Linked DNA regions of Homo sapiens: all the other regions are linked to region 1. Evidence: promoter capture Hi-C in human tissues and cell types (Jung and others, 2019). All regions are on one chromosome and are shown on one strand. Each heading gives the region's core, a stretch centred on a gene start or on the middle of the fragment in contact. The rest is flanking DNA. Distances are from core to core; before and after follow the strand shown. Region 1 holds the start of VSTM2B (V-set and transmembrane domain containing 2B). Region 2 overlaps VSTM2B-DT (VSTM2B divergent transcript). Region 3 overlaps VSTM2B-DT (VSTM2B divergent transcript).

Region 1 (2,702 bases), core at 60-2,559:
CGAGGTGGCTCCGCTGGCCCGGAACGCGCAGGGCATTTCGATGTCGTCTCCCTCCCGTACTGTCACATCTTTGGGGACTTCTGTGAATGCAGCTGGGGGTGGGGAGAGAGAGAGAGGCGTGACCAGCTGTAGGTCGGGGGCCTGGGGCAACCTAAAGCGAGGCAGTCGGTCTCTGGCTGGCTGGCCTTGTGCCCCCCACCCCGCAGCTGCTCCCTGGCGCACGGCCGGAGGGGCTAGCAAAGTTCGGGGAAGCGGCTGCAGGGCCGAGGCAGGGACCGGCCATCGGCTGCCTACTGCTTCCCTCCGGATGGGGCGGGGCGGCAGGGGCGACTCGTGCTTCTCCCCCGCCCCTGGCCGCACCGCCAGAGCCTGGCTGGGGCGCGCCTACTCCCGCTCCCCGCAGGCATCCTTTCCGCAGCCGGGGCCCCGGCGGGACTGGGAACGACTCGGGCGCGGCGCTGCTGCTGCGGCGACCCTTCGCCGCTCGCCTCTCCCTACCCCTCCGGGCCCAGGCTGCACAGCGGGATTGCTGGAGACCGCGAAGCTTCCCGGTTCGTTCTCTTTCTTCTTCTTCTCGGTGGCGGCCCCAGCAAAGACCCCCCCGAGTCCACAGCGGCAGCAAAGTTCCCGCGCTCACCGTCGGCCACGAAGAGCAGCAGGGCATGCAGCAGCAGAGGCGGCAGGTATCCGAGGGCACCGAGCCGGTTCCGCTGTTCCATCTCCCGCGGGGGGCGCGGTGGCGGCGGGGGCCCGGGAGCGGAGAGGCGGCGGCCGCGTGGGCTCGGATCGGCTCCGGCTCGGGCTAGGACGCCTCCGAGCCTGCCATGGCCCCGCGCGGCGCCCCCTCCCCTGGCCGCCGGCGGCCGCCAATCAGCCCCGCTCCCTCGCCGGCTTGCCCGGTGCGGCTCCGGCGGGGGGCGCTGCGCGGGGTGTGCAGGAGACGCGGTCCCACCGGGAGGCTGCTGGCGATCGGTCAGTGCCTCTCTCTGTCCGGTCGTCCACAGGACGGTGGGGATCCGCGGTTCAGTCTCTGCCCGGCGGGCCGGGCAGGGGCTGGGCCGCGCCGGGACCCATCCCTGGCCGAGGGAGTGCGTGCCACGGAGCCGCGAGCTTCTGCCTCCCTGTCTCCTTCTGGTTCTGCTCCCGATTGCCACCTCCTTCGGCTCCCGCAGCCGCCCCCGCCGGTTCCTCCGCGGCTCTTTCCGCAGGGCGAGTGGGCGCTCAGCCGCGGCGCGCAGACCTGGCGTCCGACCCAGCGCAGCGCGGGGAGAGCGGGTCCGGCGTGGCGGACCCGGAGCCGGAGAGAGGCGGGGAGAGGGGGAGGGGAGGGGAAGGGAGGGGGCGGTCAGTGGCTGGGCGCCAAGCCGCCTCCACCGCTGCATCGCCCCCGCCCTCCCCTCTCCTGCCACAGCCCGCCCCGCCCCCGCCCCAGAGCGCTCCCCCTCTCTCCTCGGGGGTCGCTCGGAGGGACCACCGTCTTTCTGGTTGGAGTACAGCCCCGCCCCGCACCCGCTTGGGTTGGGAGTCCTCCCACCCAAACTCTCCCTGGCTTCTTCCCAGTCTGCACGGCTCGAGACGGCCGCTCATCCCTGCTCCCCGTGTGTCCCTCGGTCCTCTCTGCAGCTCCCAGCCCTCAACTCCTTACCCCAGTTTGGGCAACCAGCTGCCCCGCTGTTTGGCCCAGGCCTGGGCCATGACGGATGGGTGGGCGCCCGGGGCCGCGAGAAGGGCGGAACGCTGTGCCCAGCCGGAGACTACGCTGGGTGGCGGCGGCAGCGCCGGGAGTCTGCAGTGCGCGAGGGAGAAGTGAGCGCACAGCGCCCAGCGAGCAGGTGCCTGCGGCGCGGAGAGCGCACACGCTAGCCAGCCCGCAGCGGCCGTGAGTGACGGCAGGGGCGGCGGGGGTGGGGTGGGGTGGGGAGCGCCGGGCACGACTCAGGGCCCGGGAGGTTTCCGGGAGGGGGCGGGGTTCCTGCCCCTGGATCGCGGGTCCCTGTGTCTCCACGCGCTCTTCGCCGGTCGTGGCCCCTTCTTTGCCCGGTGCAAAGCGAGATGCCGAGGCGGCAGGAAGCCGGAACCCATCCCCCGCCTGCTCTGGCGTACTCGGCATCCCGGTACCTCCCCCAGCCTTCACCCGGAGTCTGCTCCCTCCCCAGCCATCTGAGGGAGCGCGGTCTGGTCCCCGAAGGCAAATGCGGGGTGGACATGTGGTTCGGACGCAGCGCGTAGTCATAGTCATAGGGGCGAGTCCTAAGGCTCGCCTTGGGTCTCTCCTATCTCCTTCCCCCGGGAGTCCCCAGCTAGTGCGTTTCGGCACCTCTGCCCCTACCCCGGCCCCTACGCCTCAGCTCTGACCTCAGGTTGGGGTGGGGCAGCCCGGTGGATTCACGTGCCTGCTTCCCCGGCTACCAGCCTCCCGGAGGCACCGCCAGAGGATTCCCTGGGAGCCAAGGAGAAGGAAACCCAGAGGGAAAACACTCTCCAGCAGCCACCCTGGTCCAGGCGGCCAGCGCAGCACAGCTCAGAGGGGAGGAGCTGCAGGCCCTCTCCAAGGCTGTCCTCGCCAGCGGGTGCCCGGGGCCAGCCCTTCTTGCCTCCAGTGCCTGCCTTTCAGTTTCCTCGTCTATGGCCCAGGAGTCACTCCCACCCCCTGGCTCACTGTGGCTCATCTATCAAGCCCTTGTTTTCTAAGGTCTCCTGCT
Region 2 (2,702 bases), core at 77-2,576, 61 kb after region 1:
TATTTCTAATCTGTTAATTGCTTGGATTTAATTGTGAATAGTTCATTTTATTTTCTTGAAAAAGGCTTCTGTGTTCTACATTTCCTGAAGTATTTAACATTTCAGAATGGATGCTTCTTGCCTTTATACATGAATAACTTTGGCTGGGTGTAATATTCTTTGCTGCCTTTTCTTTCCCTCCAAACACAGACATTAATACCTTTTTGTCGGGCTCTGAGTGTTGCTGTAGAGAAGTCAGTGTCTTGCCTGATTTTCCCATTGTGTGTGATTTTTCTCTTTCTGCTTAGATATGTAAAAATTTCTCTCTTAACTTTGAAGTTTAATAACTTAATTGGATGGGCTGTGTCTTTGTGTTGGAATTTCTGTATCAAATGTTGCTAAAACACATTGTGCTATTTTGTTTATTTTGTTTTGTTTTTAGCATGTTCATTTATTTTTTTCAATACAGGGAAAATTTCTTGTATTATATCTTTGAATACATATTTTGTTCTACTTGTTGGATTTTTTTCTTTAGGAACACCAGTTATTCTTAAGATAAACTGTCTGTCTTTTTTTTTTACAGTCAGTGGTTCTCAAATGATTTTAATTTCTTTTTTTTTTTTTTCAAAGTCATAACTCACAAGAGTTACCTTTTATGTATTCCATAAAAATACACTTTTTTTTTTTTTTGCTATCCCTCCCCCCTCCCCCGACCCCACCACAGTCCCCAGAGTGTGATATTCCCCTTCCTGTGTCCATGTGATCTCATTGTTCAATTCCCACCTATGAGTGAGAATATGCGGTGTTTGGTTTTTTGTTCTTGCGATAGTTTACTGAGAATGATGGTTTCCAATTTCATCCATGTCCCTACAAAGGACATGAACTCATCATTTTTTATGGCTGCATAGTATTCCATGGTGTATATGTGCCACATTTTCTTAATCCAGTCTATCATTGTTGGACATTTGGGTTGGTTCCAAGTCTGCTATTGTGAATAATGCCGCAATAAACATACGTGTGCATGTGTCTTTATAGCAGCATGATTTATAGTCATTTGGGTATATACCCAGTAATGGAATGGCTGGGTCAAATGGTATTTCTAGTTCTAGATCCCTGAGGAATCGCCACACTGACTTCCACAATGGTTGAACTAGTTTACAGTCCCACCAACAGTGTAAAAGTGTTCCTATTTCTCCACATCCTCTCCAGCACCTGTTGTTTCCTGACTTTTTAATGATTGCCATTCTAACTGGTGTGAGATGATATCTCATAGTGGTTTTGATTTGCATTTCTCTGATGGCCAGTGATGATGAGCATTTTTTCATGTGTTTTTTGGCTGCATAAATGTCTTCTTTTGAGAAGTGTCTGTTCATGTCCTTCACCCACTTTTTGATGGGGTTGTTTGTTTTTTTCTTGTAAATTTGTTTGAGTTCATTGTAGATTCTGGATATTAGCCCTTTGTCAGATGAGTAGGTTGCGAAAATTTTCTCCCATGTTGTAGGTTGCCTGTTCACTCTGATGGTAGTTTCTTTTGCTGTGCAGAAGCTCTTTAGTTTAATTAGATCCCATTTGTCAATTTTGGCTTTTGTTGCCATTGCTTTTGGTGTTTTGGACATGAAGTCCTTGCCCACGCCTATGTCCTGAATGGTAATGCCTAGGTTTTCTTCTAGGGTTTTTATGGTTTTAGGTCTAACGTTTAAATCTTTAATCCATCTTGAATTGATTTTTGTATAAGGTGTAAGGAAGGGATCCAGTTTCAGCTTTCTACATATGGCTAGCCAGTTTTCCCAGCACCATTTATTAAATAGGGAATCCTTTCCCCATTGCTTGTTTTTCTCAGGTTTGTCAAAGATCAGATAGTTGTAGATATGCGGCATTATTTCTGAGGGCTCTGTTCTGTTCCATTGATCTATATCTCTGTTTTGGTACCAGTACCATGCTGTTTTGGTTACTGTAGCCTTGTAGTATAGTTTGAAGTCAGGTAGTGTGATGCCTCCAGCTTTGTTCTTTTGGCTTAGGATTGACTTGGCGATGCGGGCTCTTTTTTGGTTCCATATGAACTTTAAAGTAGTTTTTTCCAATTCTGTGAAGAAAGTCATTGGTAGCTTGATGGGGATGGCATTGAATCTGTAAATTACCTTGGGCAGTATGGCCATTTTCACGATATTGATTCTTCCTACCCATGAGCATGGAATGTTCTTCCATTTGTTTGTGTCCTCTTTTATTTCCTTGAGCAGTGGTTTGTAGTTCTCCTTGAAGAGGTCCTTCACATCCCTTGTAAGTTGGATTCCTAGGTATTTTATTCTCTTTGAAGCAATTGTGAATGGGAGTTCACTTATGATTTGGCTCTCTGTTTGTCTGTTGTTGGTGTATAAGAATGCTTGTGATTTTTGTACATTGATTTTGTATCCTGAGACTTTGCTGAAGTTGCTTATCAGCTTAAGGAGATTTTGGGCTGAGACAATGGGGTTTTCTAGATAAACAATCATGTCGTCTGCAAACAGGGACAATTTGACTTCCTCTTTTCCTAATTGAATACCCTTTATTTCCTTCTCCTGCCTGATTGCCCTGGCCAGAACTTCCAACACTATGTTGAATAGGAGCGGTGAGAGAGGACATCCCTGTCTTGTGCCAGTTTTCAAAGGGAATGCTTCCAGTTTTTGCCCATTCAGTATGATATTGGCTGTGGGTTTGTCATAGATAGCTCTTATTATTTTGAAATA
Region 3 (2,702 bases), core at 146-2,645, 41 kb after region 1:
TCCCAGCACTATGGGAAGCCGAGGTGGGTGGATCAGCTGAGGTCAGGGGTTCGAGACCAGCCTGGCCAACATGGTGAAACCCCGTCTCTACTAAAAATACAAAAAATTAGCTGGGCATGGTGGCAGGCGCCTGCAATCCCAGCTACTTGGGAGGCTGAGGCAGGAGAATCACTTGAACTTAGGAGGCAGAGGTTGCAGTAAGCTGAGATTACACCATTGCACTCCAGCCTGGGCAACAACATAGAAACTCCGTCTCAGAAAAAAAACAAAAACAAAAAACCAAAACACACACACACGCAAACACACACACACACAAAACCCTAAATGATTAGGTTTTTAACATTAAACATTAATTATTCTCATCTAGTTTTATTATATTGTGATGAAAGAATGTGGCCCATATCATTTTATATGATTTTGGAACTTATAGAGGGTATTTTTTGTGGTCAAAAGTATTTATTTTGGTCATGAATGCTGAAAAAGTAGATGCATTTTCTGTAGCAAATCAAATTTATTAACTTATAGTCAGATTTCCTATATTTTTTGTTCATCTTGGTTTTTGCTAACTTATCCTGTCCATGGCAGACCAGGTGGGCTGAGTGGGGGCTCTGTGTCCCAGGGGCCACGGTGGTGGACTGGTGACAATGTGGACCTGTCCATCCATCCTCTCTTCCTTGCAGTCCTGCATGGGGAAAAGAGCTCGGGAGTGAGGTAATGTGGATTTGAATCCTGGCTTCAGCCACCCCTCACCATTGTGGCCGGGCCATCTGTGAAGTGGGAATGGGAGCATGAACCGGGCAGGGATGGAGGGAGAATGAAGTAGGACAAGGATAGGGAAGTCTGCCCCCTCCCCTTGCAGCCCCGCTCTCATCCCAGTAGCTCCTATCCGCCCCATACCATGCATCCCTGAAAGCTGCCCCTGCATCCGGGTTGATAAAAGACAGACAGCCCTGGAGGTGGAGTAATGCAGACCTCCTCCTCAGGTGGGCTGGGGGCTGTTGCAGACCTCTGAGTTTTCAGGCATAGTTGGGAGGTTTTGGGGACTTTTCCAGGATCCCCTTTCAAATCCTACCAGGCTGGAGGCTTTCTGTTAGCCTCTGACTTAGGACAGTCTTACCAGGCCAAGACCTGCTCCTGGGATACGTGCCTCACAGTTAGGAGTCCCTGCAGGACTTCCAGGCGGTCAGCACCACACCAATGGGGATCCCGTAGATATGGGAAGCAGCTGCAGTTGTAACAGGACCCAGTTCGGCTGTGTACTGCTTAAACATCAAACACAAGGGGTGAGAGTTGGTGGGAGGAAAAGCAGGTTTATTCAGACCAGCCAGCAAACCACAAAGATGGCGGACTAGCGTCCTAAAGTACCATCTTTAGTTAGGACACATTTCAGGTTCTTTTTAAGTTAAGGGCAGGGAAAAGAAAAGGGGGCTGGGATTAAGAGGTGGTAGAGGACTTCAGACGTTTGGGCACCAGCGAGGTTCCGAGGAGGTTGGGAACACATTTGTCCTCGGTCAGGTGGCAATACTCCTGTAATCTTTAACAAAACATAGTTGGTTGTTGACAGACTTCCCTTTAGCCTCAGTGTTAGCTTAAAAAAAACGACATGATTGCTGTTTTTGCGTAATTTAACTCAGTGCTCTAAAATTATCTTAGCCTGTGGGCAGCAATGGGTCAAGGCCCCTTAAACAAAAATGGAGTGAGTGACGTTAGTTCTTTTGCTGTTTCACTGTTAGTCATCTAGTGGTCTGGGGGAGACAGGAACCTGGGTCCCCAGTGCCATGGCCCATGGGCTCAGCCCATCCTGCTGTTCCAGCCCAGTGCCTTCCCTGAGCTCCCAGGCCCCAGGGAGGGTAGGAATGGGAGCTCACTGGGTGCAGATCCAGGAGAGGCCGGCTGGCTCCTCACTGTCCCTGAAGCAGGAAGCTCCAGGTAAATCAGAGTCAGCTGGCAGCCCCTGGTGAGGTCAGAGGTGCAGCTGACATGCGCATGCTGCAAAGGCCGAGATTTAGGCCGAGGAAGAGGCCAGGAGCTCCAGAACCCCTGCCAGGCTCACTCTCTGCCTCTGCTGCCTATAGCCTGAGACTGCTAGAGGGGATCCCATGCCCTGCCAGGCCTCACAGGAGTCCTCCCCACACCTCCTCTCTGCAGAGCCTTTCTACGGCCCAGAGTCAGAAGGCCTGATGTGGTGTCTGCTCTGTTGTGAGACTCTGGCCTCAGCTTCATCATCTGCAAAATGGGGCTGGACAGACCTCTTCTTCCTCAGGATCAAACATGATGGAGGCTGAGGGACTTTGGAAAGGGTTGGGGGGACATCGAGGGGCTCTGAGTAATGGCAGAGAAAGCACCTTAGGGTTTCTGGGCCCGGCTGCCTGCACCCATCACTCAAGCATCCATCCTGACCCCTGGAGACTCCAGCTGTTTTAAAGGAATATGTCTCCATCCTAGGTCACCTTTGTCACTGCTGGGGGCAGCCTGACACAGCATTTCAAAGAATCAGCTGAGGTCAGATAGACCTGGCTGCGTGACCTCAAATGAGTTCCGTAAGCTCTCTCGGCCGCGGTTTCCTTACCTGGGAAATGGGCCCTCCTTCAGAGGGTTGATATGGGCAGGAAATGACAGTGTGCAAGGAGTGCTCAGGATGGCACAGGATGGTACATGCTCTGCTGTGAGATGAGTGCTGGCATCGCCTCCCCAGGCAGTGG

Evidence for each region. Contacts are between HindIII fragments. The study calls those that stand out against the background at their distance.
Region 2: a contact is called between a fragment that was not itself captured here and the fragment with the promoter of VSTM2B in region 1, in 2 of the 25 tissues and cell types used here (dorsolateral prefrontal cortex and hippocampus).
Region 3: a contact is called between a fragment that was not itself captured here and the fragment with the promoter of VSTM2B in region 1, in 1 of the 25 tissues and cell types used here (hippocampus).

Annotation. Positions count from the first base shown.
Region 1 is chr19:29,524,601-29,527,302 of GRCh38, reverse strand. It overlaps VSTM2B (V-set and transmembrane domain containing 2B), which reads right to left and starts at 1,309. Exons shown (of 5, transcript NM_001146339.2): 1 at 638-1,309; 2 at 1-92. The coding sequence starts at 719. VSTM2B-DT (VSTM2B divergent transcript) reads left to right here and starts at 1,553. Exons shown (of 10, transcript NR_040029.2): 1 at 1,553-1,879. The region is part of intron 1 of LOC124904683 (a long non-coding RNA gene); the gene reads left to right. The HindIII fragment of the contact is 17,468 bases long and covers 1-2,702 here.
Region 2 is chr19:29,463,155-29,465,856 of GRCh38, reverse strand. The region is part of intron 1 of VSTM2B-DT (VSTM2B divergent transcript); the gene reads left to right. Among named protein-coding and RNA genes, the nearest start is that of VSTM2B-DT, 61 kb to the left of the region's middle. The HindIII fragment of the contact is 5,057 bases long and covers 1-2,702 here.
Region 3 is chr19:29,483,596-29,486,297 of GRCh38, reverse strand. The region is part of intron 1 of VSTM2B-DT (VSTM2B divergent transcript); the gene reads left to right. Among named protein-coding and RNA genes, the nearest start is that of VSTM2B-DT, 41 kb to the left of the region's middle. The HindIII fragment of the contact is 4,384 bases long and covers 1-2,702 here.